Linked DNA regions of Homo sapiens: all the other regions are linked to region 4. The links are contacts of gene promoters, found by promoter capture Hi-C in blood cells and fetal thymus (Javierre and others, 2016). All regions are on one chromosome and are shown on one strand. The core of a region is centred on a gene start or on the middle of the fragment in contact, and the rest is flanking DNA. Distances in the headings are between cores, read along the strand shown. Region 1 overlaps ZNF142 (zinc finger protein 142). Region 2 overlaps STK36 (serine/threonine kinase 36). Region 3 overlaps USP37 (ubiquitin specific peptidase 37). Region 4 holds the start of USP37 (ubiquitin specific peptidase 37).

The links. The method cuts DNA at HindIII sites, captures the fragments that hold promoters and counts their contacts. A CHiCAGO score of 5 or more calls a contact.
Region 1: a contact is called between a fragment that was not itself captured here and the fragment with the promoter of USP37 in region 4, in 12 of 17 cell types (endothelial precursors, fetal thymus, naive CD4 T cells and 9 more). The highest score is 14.0, in endothelial precursors.
Region 2: a contact is called between a fragment that was not itself captured here and the fragment with the promoter of USP37 in region 4, in 10 of 17 cell types (naive CD8 T cells, fetal thymus, naive CD4 T cells and 7 more). The highest score is 8.5, in naive CD8 T cells.
Region 3: a fragment that was not itself captured here is called in contact with the fragment with the promoter of USP37 in region 4 in 11 of 17 cell types (endothelial precursors, erythroblasts, naive CD4 T cells and 8 more); the score reaches 8.7 in endothelial precursors.

The regions. Positions count from the first base shown.
Region 1 is chr2:218,649,582-218,653,163 of GRCh38, forward strand. ZNF142 (zinc finger protein 142) reads right to left here. Exons shown (of 11, transcript NM_001379659.1): 5 at 2,120-2,719; 6 at 778-945. Among named protein-coding and RNA genes, the nearest start is that of ZNF142, 8.2 kb to the right of the region's middle. The HindIII fragment of the contact is 7,287 bases long and covers 1-3,582 here.
Region 2 is chr2:218,672,963-218,676,298 of GRCh38, forward strand. STK36 (serine/threonine kinase 36) reads left to right here. Exons shown (of 27, transcript NM_015690.5): 3 at 663-803; 4 at 917-994; 5 at 2,381-2,511; 6 at 3,067-3,316. Among named protein-coding and RNA genes, the nearest start is that of STK36, 2.5 kb to the left of the region's middle. The HindIII fragment of the contact is 1,348 bases long and covers 1,188-2,535 here.
Region 3 is chr2:218,456,270-218,459,481 of GRCh38, forward strand. It overlaps USP37 (ubiquitin specific peptidase 37), which reads right to left. Exons shown (of 26, transcript NM_020935.3): 24 at 823-892. Among named protein-coding and RNA genes, the nearest start is that of VIL1, 39 kb to the left of the region's middle. The HindIII fragment of the contact is 1,496 bases long and covers 985-2,480 here.
Region 4 is chr2:218,566,749-218,570,108 of GRCh38, forward strand. USP37 (ubiquitin specific peptidase 37) reads right to left here and starts at 1,603. Exons shown (of 26, transcript NM_020935.3): 1 at 1,430-1,603. CNOT9 (CCR4-NOT transcription complex subunit 9) reads left to right here and starts at 2,091. Exons shown (of 8, transcript NM_005444.3): 1 at 2,091-2,230. The coding sequence starts at 2,207. RefSeq lists enhancers at 1,446-2,073, 2,074-2,701, 2,496-2,685 and silencers at 1,566-1,635, 1,726-1,785. The HindIII fragment of the contact is 2,574 bases long and covers 355-2,928 here.

The DNA.
Region 1 (3,582 bases), core at 907-3,406, 83 kb after region 4:
AAGGGTCTCAAATACTGTAGTCTCAAAAAAGGGTGAGAAACTCAAGTTTTAAGAGAAGCAAAATCACAAGGGCTTCTCAGGCCTTGCTGTGACAGCCTGTTTGAAGTGCTTTACTCAGCTACCTGCTCTTCTTGAGCCTTTGTTTAGAGCTGCTTAAAATAATCTGAATGGAGCATTCTTGTTCTTTCCTGCCTTGTTCTATGGGGGCAGGCAGAAGCATCGGCAAGATTAGTTAGAAGGAAAAGAGCCCCCAAGGGGGTGAGCCAAAAGAAGGTACAGTACTCTTACTGGCTCACAGGCTCTAGATAATAATGAAGTTGGTAATAAATACAACCCAATCTTTCTTATTCACTTGATAACTATGCTCCTTGTGGGATGACTTTCAAATATTCTACTGAGGTGAAAAACTGGGAAGCAAAGATTCAGAAAAAAGTATTTGAGGGCTCAGTGCCAGACAAAATAGGCTGCTGATCATCAATAACTTCTGGCATCTCTATATGATGAAGATCACCTCCTGCTTCCCTGCTAGAGTTTTCTGCCTGAGGAAAACCAGCCCAGTGAAGCAAACTCGATTTACCCCAATGCTATATTACTAAAGTCTTTACCATTCACTCATTTATCATTTTCCCACTAGACCTTGACTTTTGAGTCAAGGTAGAACAGAATAAAAGGATCCGAACCAAAGCTCAGAAAACAAACCCCAGAGCCTCAATGGCAGGGTTTCAACAATCCATTCTTCCCCACCACCAAGGGCTTCAAGCCTCAGAATGTCATTACCTTCCAGCCGCTGAGCCCCTTGGCCTTTATCCACAGCCTTTTGGGAGTCCTTCTGGGTGTCACTCTTCTCTTCTTTCTCTACATTCTCCTCTTCAGCTGTCTCCTGCCCAGGCAAGGGTGTACCTGCTTCCTGTGAAGGTTCTCTCTCTCCTGGAGGCAGTTTGGGAGCTGGAGATACATAAAACTTGATAAAGTCTACAGGAGCCAATAACAGCACTAAATGCTTATACTTCTCTACCTACTGGCTGAAATAATCACCCTCTCCCACTTTTAGCATAAGGAGATCTTGGGTTTTATGTATAAATGTATTTCCACTCAAGATGAAAATAGGAGGACGAAGAGCTAAGTTATTAGCAATGTTCCAGTCTAAAGTAACTCAAACCTCAGAGAGCACCACTTTCAGACTCCATGAAGCTGACAGCAGCGAGGTCATTGAGGTCATAGGGGGCTGAAAGTAGAGAATGGGTAGACTGCAATTCCTTCTCTTATCAGAATTCTGGCCTCTCCTGGCCCGTTTTCTCTGTTTCCTCCTGCTCCTCTGCTCTCTCATGCTTTTTTGGGACCAAGAAGAATGACAACTACTAAAACGCCGTCTCCCTTGAAAGTTCCTAAGTTCCTTTCTTTACTTCTTTTTTTTTTTTTTTTTGAGACAGGGTCTTACTCTGTCATCCAGACTGAAGTGCAGTGCTGCAATCTTGGCTCACTGCAACCTCCACCTCCTGAGCTCAAGTGATCCCCCACCTCAACCTCCCGAGTAACTGGGACTACAGACATGTACCACCACACCCAATTTTTGTATTTTTTGTAGAGACAGCATTTCACCACATTGCCCAGGCTGGTCTTGAACTCCTGGGCTCAAGGGATCCATCCACCTTGGCCTCTCAAATTGTTGGGATCACAGGCATGTGCCACAGTGCCCAGCCCAAAGGGTTATTTCCTTTTTAAAATAACCCTGGCTTCTACTGCCCAATCCCCAGTTGCTCTAAAGGAAAGTCTACAGGCATTCTATCAGTGGCCATAGCCAATGATGGTCATTTTCACTTTAGCTCTCAGAAAGTTGTGAAATGGATCATTAGAGAATATTGGTTAAGTAACTTCAGGCCACACGTAGCCTAAGCCAACTTTCACTCATTGTCACAAACAAAGACTTCCTCTTTGTCCCATATATTCCAACTGTTTCAAGATGCCTTCCCATGTCATCCAGTAACTCCATCCTCCTGAGCCACTGTCTAGATTCTCTTATATTCATGTACATTCATGGCCTTGGAAACAACTGCCTCTCCTATAAGATCAACTGTGGCTGAACTCCAGGAGAGGAACTGCTTGGCCCTTGGCCTCATACCTGGCAGCAGCTCCTGGGATGGAAGGCCCTGAACGGCAGAAAGTTCTCCCTGTGTCCCAGCACCATGGCTCCGCTGATGCTGCCGGAAGAGTTTGACGTTGGAGCCTATGAAGCTGCAGTGGCTGCAGTGGAAAGGGTAATGCGCCTGCCGGTGCAGCTCCATGCCCTGCTGGCTCCCGAAAAGCAGGGGGCAGCCCCGGAAAGAACAGGGCACAGGAACTGCTCTGTGAGTCTGCCTCAGGTGGTGCTGCAGACCCTTGCGATCTTCAGCAGAGAACACACAGCCAGATTCTGGGCAGGAGAAGGTGTCAGGAGTGCCCCGGTGAATCTTGAAGTGGCTCTTCAGGGCCTGGGGTTGGGCAAACTCCTGTCTACACACAGGGCATGATAGGGGGCTAACTGGCGGGCTCTGGCCCTGCAGAGGGCCAGGGAGGGTTGGGTTGCTGGGAGGCAGCTCTACAGAGCATGGGGGGCTAGAGAGGCCCTGCACAGGCTGTATATGGGTCTCACTGCACTGGTGCAGGGCCAGCAGAGTGGGCTCTGCGAAGCTCTGTTCACAGCGCTCACAGAAGTACACCTCCACCACCTTTACCAGGACACCTGCAGGCAGAGGACCGACAGAGAAAGGCATAGAATCAGATGGAACAAGACTCATAGGAGTTAGTTACTAGTAGAAAATGTAGGTGAATCTTTTAATATTCGTAGAGTACAGATGGACTTTAAGTCTGGTCCTACACCTGGACTGTAGGCCCCATAAGGTCAGGGACCATCTATCTGGCACGTGTGTTTGGATTCCTAGCACAATACTTGGCACAAGATAGGTGCTTAATAAATATTTGTTAAATGAGTGAACAAGCAAGCAAATCCAGAAAGCATTAAGACAGTATATTTTGCCCAAGTGAAAACCAGAAACTTCCAAAAGAAAATGACAAACTAGGGATAATATCTGCAATATAAATGGTTAAGAGCTTTACTTTCAAATTCTGTAAAGAGCTTTACAAAGGCACAGGAATGGATAAAATGGAGAATATCCTTCTGAAAATAATTATTATTCTCCATAATAATTGCTGCCGTTTTAAAAGCAATGGGCAAGACTTTGATAAAGAAAGGCTTAATAAACGCTCTCATTTGGTCCTCCAACAGCCCTATGACAACAAGGTCCTGAGATTCTACGAGATTAAGACTACTATGTTTATTAGTGGTAGAGCCATGACTCAAGGCCAGGTTTGTCCTACATTTATTCTGCTGGTCTGTTTGCTCTTTATTGTTTTTTTTGTTGTTAAAAAAAAAAATTTCAGGGCCAGGTGCAGTGGCTCACGCCTGTAATCTTGGCACTTTGGGAGGCTGAGACAGGAGGATCATGAGGTCAGGAGATCGAGACCATCCTGGCTAACATGGTGAAAACCCGTCTCTACTAAAAATACAAAAAATTAGCCAGGCGTGGTGGCACGCACCTGTAGTCC
Region 2 (3,336 bases), core at 612-3,111, 110 kb after region 4:
TCCAGTGGAAAATGGATCTAGAAGGAATGTATTTATACCAGTTTGTATTCCTAAGGTACTGACTCCCTCATACTTCTTATGGAGTATAAGCTTTGAAGTTGGATTATTTGGGTGCAAATTCCATCTCCACCGCTTTCTAGCCCTAGAATTATGGACAAATTACTTAACTTCCCTATGTCTCAATTTCCTTATCTCTAGAATGGGGATAAGAACAGCAACTGATTGATGGAGTTTGAGGATTAAATATGTTTTCACATTAAATCACTTAGTACAGTGCCTGGCTGTTAGTAAACAACAAATATTATTAGTCTCTAGCACACCATGTAATAAGAGGTAAACCACTTGAACTCTATTATTTCCTCTTCATTTTTTTTTTCCTTTCCTTTCTCCTAAATCTCATCTTGAGTGCTGGTCAAATCAGAACACTTCTTCCAGAAGGGGAAATGTTTTGCAGATGCTGTTTCCTCCTGGGATGAGGAATGGGGAAAGCCTGGATAAGGCCAGGGTACCATGGAGAAAATGGAAGCGGGAGACTAACAGAAATAATAAGAGTTACTCAAACACTCTAAAATCTGACTTCTGGAGCTCTGAGATTAAGGCTGAAATTCTAGATCTTTTCAGTAGTGTGATTAGGCGTTAACTTTTCACCTTACCACTGACAGGTCGTGGCCCTGAAGTTCATCCCAAAATTGGGGCGCTCAGAGAAGGAGCTGAGGAATTTGCAACGAGAGATTGAAATAATGCGGGGTCTGCGGCATCCCAACATTGTGCATATGCTTGACAGCTTTGAAACTGATAAAGAGGTGTGCTTTGACAGTTTTGGGCCCTGTCTCCCCAAGCACAAGGGTTCCAGGAATTTCCCAACCTCAGAATGCATGAATCTGGAGCCATCAGTGCCACTGCCTTCTCTCTGTAGGTGGTGGTGGTGACAGACTATGCTGAGGGAGAGCTCTTTCAGATCCTAGAAGATGACGGAAAACTTCCTGAAGACCAGGTATGCTTTCTGCCTTCAACTTCTCCCCACCTCCGACCTCTCTCCAGGTTAGAGAACTGGTAGAGCAAGCTAAGGACACTGAGAGTCTCCATTTCAAAGACTTCTGAGAAGAATATAAGAGTCTAGGTATATAGAGGCAGTGTAGTGTGGGAGTAAATTATGTAAACGTTGGAGTCAAAATATCTGAGCAGGAAGCTTGGCTCTGCTCCTTCCTAGCTGGGTCTCATTGGACAAGTTACTTTAATTTCTTTGTGCTTAGTTTCCTAATTTGTAAAATGGAGATAATAATCATGTTTGCCTGATAAGTCTATGATGAAGAGTGTTAAGTCATGTAATGTGTTTGAATAGTTAGCTATTATTAACATTATTGTTATTAGATACCTTTAGGGAAGAAGGGCCAGTGTAATGGTACCAGAAAGAGGGCAGTAAGAATAAAGGTTGTGGGGAGTCAGGATTTGGCACCAGGACGTAGTGGTTAGCAGTGGGATTTTGTTGCACATATCCTCCAGCCACATTTATTCTAGGCGTTTGTCTGTACCCAAGCAAGTAGGCCCCCCCTGGGATTCATTATTGCAGCATTCTCTTTCCTTCTGAGCACTCACCACTATTTGTAAGTAATCATATTTTTGAAATTATTTTATTTTTAATTGAATTTTATTTTTTGAGACAGAGTCTCGCTTTGTTGCCCAGGCTGGAGTGCAGTGGCACAATCTTGGCTCACAGCAAACTCCGCCTTCCAGGTTCAAGCAATTCTCGTGCCTCAGCCTCCCCAGTAACCAGGATTATAGCATGCGCCACCATGCCTAGCTAATTTTGTACTTTTAGTAGAGATGGGGTTTCACCATGCTGGCCAGGCTGGTCTCGAACTGCTGGCCTCAGGTGATCTGCCCGCCTCAGCCTCCCAAAGTGCTGGTATTACAGGTGTGAGCCACCACGCCCGACCACCATATTTGTTTTATCTGTCTTGTTTGTTTGTCTGACTACTTTTCTTGAAAAAAGGCATTTTGTCTTATTTAATAACAGGTAATGTGTATTGAATATTTACTATGTGCCAGGCACCATTCTGAGTATTATTTTGCATGCTTTAACTCAGTCCTCACAATAATCCTCCATGTAGATGGTGTTATTATATAGATTGTCACCTTAGTTTGCCCATGGTCAAGCAGATAGTAAATGAGATTCAATAAATTTTTCTTGAATGAATGAATGAGCAAATGAAAGAGTGATTAAACAAGGGGAACAATAACTAAGAAAGAATAGTGTGAAGCTCTGCAAGAAAGGGAAGGAAGAAAAGATTAGCAGTAATATTAAGAGAAATTTTTGGGCTTGTCAGCCAGCTGCTGTTTCTAACCTTTTTTTTCTTTCTTCCACCTCTTTAATTTCTAGGTTCAGGCCATTGCTGCCCAGTTGGTGTCAGCCCTGTACTATCTGCATTCCCACCGCATCCTACACCGAGATATGAAGCCTCAGAACATCCTCCTCGCCAAGGGTGGTGGCATCAAGCTCTGTGACTTTGGGTAAAGATTCTGAGCATCCATCTAAGCTTCCAGTTCCACACGGAATCTTTTTTTTTTTTTTTTTTTTTGAGATGGAGTTTCACTCTTGTTACCCAGGCTGAAGTGCAATGGTGCGATCTCCACTCACCACAACCTCTGCCTCCCGGATTCAAGCAATTCTACTGCCTCAGCCTCCAGAGTAGCTGGGATTACAGGCATGTGCCACCATGCCTGGCTAATTTTATATTTTTAGTAGAGATGGGGTTTCTCCATGTTGGTCAGGCTGGTCTCGAACTCCTGACCTCAGGTGATCTGCCCACCTCGGCCTCCCAAAGTGCTGGGATTACAGGCATGAGCCACTGAGCCTGGCCCCACAGGGAATCTTAGACCATACTCTTGACTTATTTGGGCCTCATTTTAGAACCGGAGCTAGAGGCTGGGACTGCTGCTGGGTCTTCTGGAACCTAATCAAAGGTGCTCCCTCTGCTCCGGTTTGGGATATCTCTATGTTAGGTAGTAGTGACCAGGTTTAGAATATCTTTTCCCTTTCCATTTCCATCCCATTATCTTCTGCAGATTTGCCCGGGCTATGAGCACCAATACAATGGTGCTGACATCCATCAAAGGCACACCACTCTATATGTCTCCAGAGCTGGTGGAGGAGCGACCATACGACCACACAGCGGACCTCTGGTCTGTTGGCTGCATACTATATGAACTGGCAGTAGGCACCCCTCCCTTCTATGCTACAAGCATCTTTCAGCTGGTCAGCCTCATTCTCAAGGACCCTGTGCGCTGGCCCTCAACCATCAGTCCCTGCTTTAAGGTAATGAATATTGAAAGGGA
Region 3 (3,212 bases), core at 483-2,982, 110 kb before region 4:
AAGAACCCGTCCATACAAAAAATTTAAAAAAATTAGTCAGGTGTGGTGGCATGCACGTGTAGTCGCAGCTACTCAGCAGGCTGAGGGAGGAGGATCTCTTGAGCTCCTGAGCCCAGGAATTCAGTGCTGCAATGAGCTAATGATGGTGCCACTGCACTCCAGCCTGGTGACAGAGTGAGACCCTGTCTCTTGAAAAAAAAAAAAAGAAAAAAGAAGAAAAAAATATTTGTATATACACAGAGAATCAAGGAGGCATATGCTACACTGGTACACCATTTTTGATTAATGTATTTTGTTCAGGGGAATTTAGGTCACTTATGAATTGAGAAATCAAAACAGTTACACCTATTAACACAATGCACATTGAGTGTGATCAAAGTAGATTTCAAAGATTTTCTTGAAAAACTTATACTTCGTGGGCTGGGCATGGTCGCTCACGTCTGTAATCCCAGCACTTTGGGAGGCCAAGGTGGGTGGATCTCTTGATCCCAGGAGTTCAAGACCAGCCTGGCCAATATGGTGAAACCCCATCTCTACTAAAAATGCAAAAATTAGCTGGGCGTGGTGGTGCATGCCTGTAATCCCAGCTACTTGGGAGGCTGAGACAGCAGAATCACTTGGACCCAGGAGGTGGAGGCTGCAGTGAGCCGAGATTGTGCCACTACACTCCATCCTGGGCAACAGAGTGAGACTGGATCTCAAAAAAAAAAAGAAAAAGAAAAAGAAAAACACACTTCACAAAGCTAGGCAAAGAGCAATATAATAAAGAGCAAATGCTGACTAGTTCATTTATAAAATGCTGAAATCATGATGGCTATTCACCTGAAGAAGAAGTGCTACCAATGTGACTGACAACACTGATGAGCCGGTACGAATGAGGCAGATTTCCTGTCTGGAAAACAGAAGTGGGTATAACTTTTAAGTCTTCATTTGAATAAAAGCAAAACACTGAATATAAATTTATTATCAAAGCTGACATGGCTAAGCTTTGGTATGTGGCATAGTAAGAATCAATTAAAAAATCTGTTCATACCCTTTGACCCAAGAATTCCACCCTCAACTAAGAATTTATTCTAAGGAAATAAGTCAAAAGAAGAGTATATGTATCAAATTATTTACTGTGGCATTATCTGGTGAAAAGCTGGAACCAACAATATATCCAATAATAGCTAACTGGTTAGTATATCAATTCAATATAATAATGTTCAGTTATATAAAAAAACTACATGGATCAGGAACATGTTAACCTTTTTTCCAAACCCATATGAATGCACATAGTAACTATAACTCTATTAAAAAAATGTTACGTTAAGAGTTAGGCATTGGACAATAGAACAAAAATGTTAAAAAGAGTTGCTATGTTGCTGTAGGGATCAGAGTGAACTTTTATATTTTAAAAAATATGATTAAAATATTTTTGGTAAAATAAAGCAAAACTGAAAAAGTGATATTCATGCACTGCAGACAGCACTATAAGGTAAAATTTGGGGAAGGAAGGCCAGGCGTGGTGGCTCACGCCTGTAATCCCAGCACTTTGGGAGGCCAAGGTGGGCAGATCACGAGGTCAGGAGATTGAGACCATCCTGCCTAACACAGTGAAACCCTGTCTCTACTAAAAAAACACAAAAAATTAGCTGGCGGGCGCCTGTAGTCCCAGCTGCTCGGGAGGCTGAGGCAGGAGAATGGCATGAATCCAGGAGGTGGAGCTTGCAGTGAGCTGAGATCGGGCCACTGCACTCCAGCCTGGGCGACAGAGCAAGACTCTGTCTCAAAAAAAAAAAAAAAGAAAAGAAAAGAAAAGAAAAAAAAAATTGGGGGAAGGAATATGGCTATATGTAAACCAGAAACTTAAAATGTTCATAAACTTCGATTTAGTAATTTACTTCTGGAGAATATAAAAGGAGAAATTCTAAAATATAGAAAATGCATGAGCCAAGAGCACACGCCACTGCACTCCAGCCTGGGTGACAGACAGACCTTGCCTAAAAAAAAAAAAAAAAAAAAAAACAACTCTATGTTTGGCCAGGTGCAGTGGCTCAGGCCTGTAATCCCCATACTTTGGGAGGCAGAGATGGGTGGATCCCTCAAGGCCAAGAATTTGAGACTGGCCTAGCCAACATGGTGAAATTGCATCTCTACTAAAAATACAAAAATTAGCTGGGCATAGTGGCTCATGCCTGCAATCCCAGCTACTCAGGTGGCTGAGGCACAAGAATCGCTTGAGCCCAGGAAGTGGAGGAAGTTGCAGTGAGCTGAGATCGTGTCACTGCACTCCAGCCTGGGTGACAGAGCGAGACTCTGTCTCAAAAAAATTAAAAAATAAAATAAAATAAAATAAGGAAAATGCTATAAGCATACAGTTTCCCAACTTATTATCATAGTGAAAAATTAAAAACAACTTAGACAAATACTCAATGTTAGCTAAAAGTTAAATAAGTAGGATATTTATTTGAGGCAATATAGTACAGCCATTAAACATAAGCTTATAAATAACTACTCTTTAAGAAACAGGATAACCTGGGTGTGGCAGTGTGTGCCTCTAGTTCCAGCCATTTGGAAGGCTGAGGCAGGAAAATCCCTTGAGCCCAGGAGTCTGAAGCCAGCCTGGGCAACACAGTGAGACTCTGTCTCTAGAACAAAAAAGCAAATGAAATAAAAACTATACTTACGACTTTTTAAAAAGTATACATGGAGGTGAGAATAACAAAGAAATATGTCAAAGTGCTGAGAGTAATTGTGTTAGGATGGTAGGATCCTGGATAATCAAAATTTGAGGAGAAAAAGCAATTATTTAAGGGGGGAAAAAGGGTTAAAAAAAAAAAAACAGTTCAATGTGCCCTAATTAACATCACCAATTCAATAGTTTTCAGTGAGGAACAACCGTTTTTGGTATTTAATTATAAAGATGATACAGTTATTCAGTGTAACTAAAGGTAATTTTTTCCCCCCGAGATGGAGTTTCGCTCTTGTTGCCCAGGCTGGAGTACAATGGCATAATCTTGGCTCACTGCAACCTCCTCCTCTTCCCAGGTTCAGGTGATTCTCCTGCCTCAGCCTCCCAAATAGCTGGGATTACAGGCGTGTGCCACCACGCCCAGCTAATTTTTGCATTTTTAGTAGAGACAGGGTTTCACCATGTTGGTCAGGCTGGTCTCGAACTCCTGATCTCAGGTGATCCACCTGCCCCAGCCTCCCAAAGTGCTGGGATTACA
Region 4 (3,360 bases), core at 353-2,852:
TAAGGACTGTGGCTTAAACTAGAAAAGTGACAGTGAAAATGTACAGAAAAAGATGCAAGACACGTATTGGAAGTAGGATAGAACTTGGAGAGAGTAGAAGTCAAGAATGCCTCCCAAGTGTGTAGCCTGTGTCATGTGCCACTTAATAAACTGGGACACTGGAGAAGAAAGAATTTCGATATGGAGAGAAAGATCAAGGCTTTGGATTTGGCTGTGTTGCATCTGAAACTCCTAAGAAAAAAATCAAGTTGAGATGTCAAGCAGACAGCTGGCTATCTAGATGTGGAGCTGAAAACAAAGGGAATAGGCTGGAAATAACAATTTTTAAGTCATCAATATATAGATCAAATTTAAAGCTTAGGGAGGAATATAAGAGTAAAAGAAGAGGACCTAGGACTGAACCCAAATACTCATTTTACTTCATCAAACATCTTTAAGACAAGTGAGTACTTTTATATCACTGGGTTTTTCAGTCCTCCTTCCATTTTACCTTTCAGCAGAATGCAACACTACTGATGACTTTTTTCATGGCTTGCAAGACGCATCCTCCTCTATTGGTTATTAAACAGCAGGAATTCGTCAATGCTCCATCCTAGGTGCCTTTATTTTACAGCACTATACTCTTTTTCGGCAATTTCATCCACATCCATGGCTTCAATTACTATCAATATGGCAGATGACAAACACATACACACACCGCGCACATTTACGTACGCAGCCCAGAACTCTCCTAAGATCTCCAAACCCACTATATCCAACTGCCTACTTGACATTCCCTCTCAGGTATCTCTTCCAGTTAGACACTTGTCAGGAATTGCCACCTCAATAAAGGAATTTATACAGAGCTGAAATTTTGAGAGGAATACCCCAAAACCACTTTAGGACAACTCTTCAGGACACAGGATTTTATCATCAATCATCATTTCCTTTCATGGATCATGACTTAAAATAGTTACATCTAACAACCTGATCTGGCGGCTAGAAATGGGCGCAAGGAAATGCACAACAAAAATACAATTCATGTTTTGCAGTGAGGACTGGTCAAGAGGAAGGTGAAGATGGTCAAGAGAGTGAATGAGTATCATGTCCAAGGCCTGGTGGATGTGCCGTAACGAAAGTCACCTGAAGAGACAGCAGGCCCTGTTAGAAGGTAAGAGGCGAACGACAACAGCCCCAGAGAAAAGGGGCCAGGTTTGAGTTTCGGAGGGAGCGAGTGGCAGTGGAGACCAAGTCAAAGGAGAGGTGGAAGCCGGGGCAGTGCACCCAAAGGTAGTACCTGTGAGGCTGGGGGTGCATCGAGGGGTTGTGGGCGGGCTGAGTAGCAGCAGGGCGAACTCCAGAGGAGTGAACGCCGAGTGGGCGGATCGCACAGAAGGAGGAGGAGGTAGGGAAAACGGCTCAATTGAGAAGCTACCCCGGCCCGCCTTACCTGCGCCGAGGGTCCGGAGCCCCCGGACAGACCCGCGGAAAGCACGGAGCCCGCGAGGAGTGGGAGGAGCCGAGGGTAATGGAAGTAGGGATACCGAACCCAAAGGAGGGAGGCCGCTAGCTACCCCTAGTCAGGGAGAGCGGCTGATGGCGGGAACTGTGACCACACGCAAACACGCACGCACGCACGCACACTCGACGCGACCAGACAGGCGCGTGCGCGTCAGTCGAAAACTCCGCCCCTCACACGCCCTCGCCCCGCCCCGCCAGTACCTAGAGCGGCCTAGCCCGGGCAGCCCCGCCCCTGCCGTGACTGTAGTAGGCACGCGCACTTTCCACCTCACCCGATTTCGACGCCCCCCCACCATTTCCCTCCTACGCAACCCAGTCGGGCATGCGCAATAGTTGTCTTGCCGGGACTGTCCATCTTTTCCCGCCGTTCACTGGCTTTTGGAGGAGGGTCAGAGTTCACGCCGCTCTCTGGAAATAACTGCTCAAAGCCAGAAGTTGCGGGGACTAGTGGTCGCGGACGTCCTTCCGGTCCTAAATCTTAAGGGGCAAAGGACATACTCTGGGACTGTTAACTAGGCCCTGGAGGCGGGAAGAGGATGTGTGGGTGGGGTCAGGGGTGAGAGGTCAGAGGGCCGCGAAGTGGGCGGAGCGAGCCGGAGTCGGATGGCGGCTACGGCGGCTCATTGTTTTCCGCTGCAGGGGTGCTGAAGGGGGGACGCGGGTCGGACGCGTCCGGCTGTGGAAGAGAGCGGCGGCCGCTCACAACATGCACAGCCTGGCGACGGCTGCGGTGAGTGGCTGGGCCCCCAGGCTTGGAACCAGAATCCTTTCTCAGACCCACGTTTCGGCCTTCTCTCCTAATTCCCGGTGTCGGGTCCCTAGTCTGATTTTTTTCTGCCCTCAATCTCCAAGGCCCCGGTTCCCCTCCTCGGCACGCTTTGGTTGTGGTGGAGCCGGCCCCTATTTCCTTGCCGGACGCCTCTCGCGGCCTTCAGCGCGACCCATCGCGTTCTTTGCGGGCGCCGGGGCCTGGTCCCACGCCCGTAGCAGGCCATTCATTGATTTATTGCGCTGACCAACAGTTTCAGGGCGCCAGTTGTGTTCTGGGCGCCGGCGTCGATGAGGGGAATTCCATGGTCAATCTGACGCGGCCCCTGCTCTTAGAACTCACCACGTCGCAGCGGGAAGGAAATGGCTTCTAGTTCAAACCACTTGCTTTATTTATGGAAAACCTGAGGCCCGGAAAAGTGCATAATTTTTGCATCTGACTTAGGTTCTCTGCATTTAAAACTTTTCCTCGACACATCTCGTTTTACCCGCGTGATCTTTTAACAAAAAAGAAAGATAGTGTAATTCAGCTATCCGAAGTAATCCTACTTCTCTTGGCATTTAAATAAAATCTAGACTCCTTGCCATAGCCTGCACGGCCCTGTATGATGTGGTACTTAACCCACGTTTATAATCTCGTTTTATGTCTCTTGCTCCTAAAGCTTCAGCTACTCTGGCCACCTAACCCTCTGCAACGCGCTTATTTTTCTCCAAGATGCACTTTGTGGTCTCTATGCCTGGAGTGAATGTTCTTCTTATCCCTCCTCCTTTACATACACAGCATGAGTGTAATTGGTACCTCTTCCTTGAACTCTCCTTCCTCTCCTTAAACTGTTTATCCAAATCCATCTTTCTTCAGGTCTCTGCCTAAATCGGTCTCAGAGTGGCCTTCCCTGACTATCCTCTTCAAATTAGTTCCGCAGCCTCTAACTTTAGTAGAGTACCCTTTACAGCCCTGATCCCCGTGTAATTATTGTATTCGTTTATTTGTTGTCTGTCTCCTTGAGGGCAGGGACAGGGATCATGTGAGCCCTGTTGACGTGGTTTCCCCGGTGCCAGGACAGTTCCTAGTACAAGATTAAAGACTCAGAT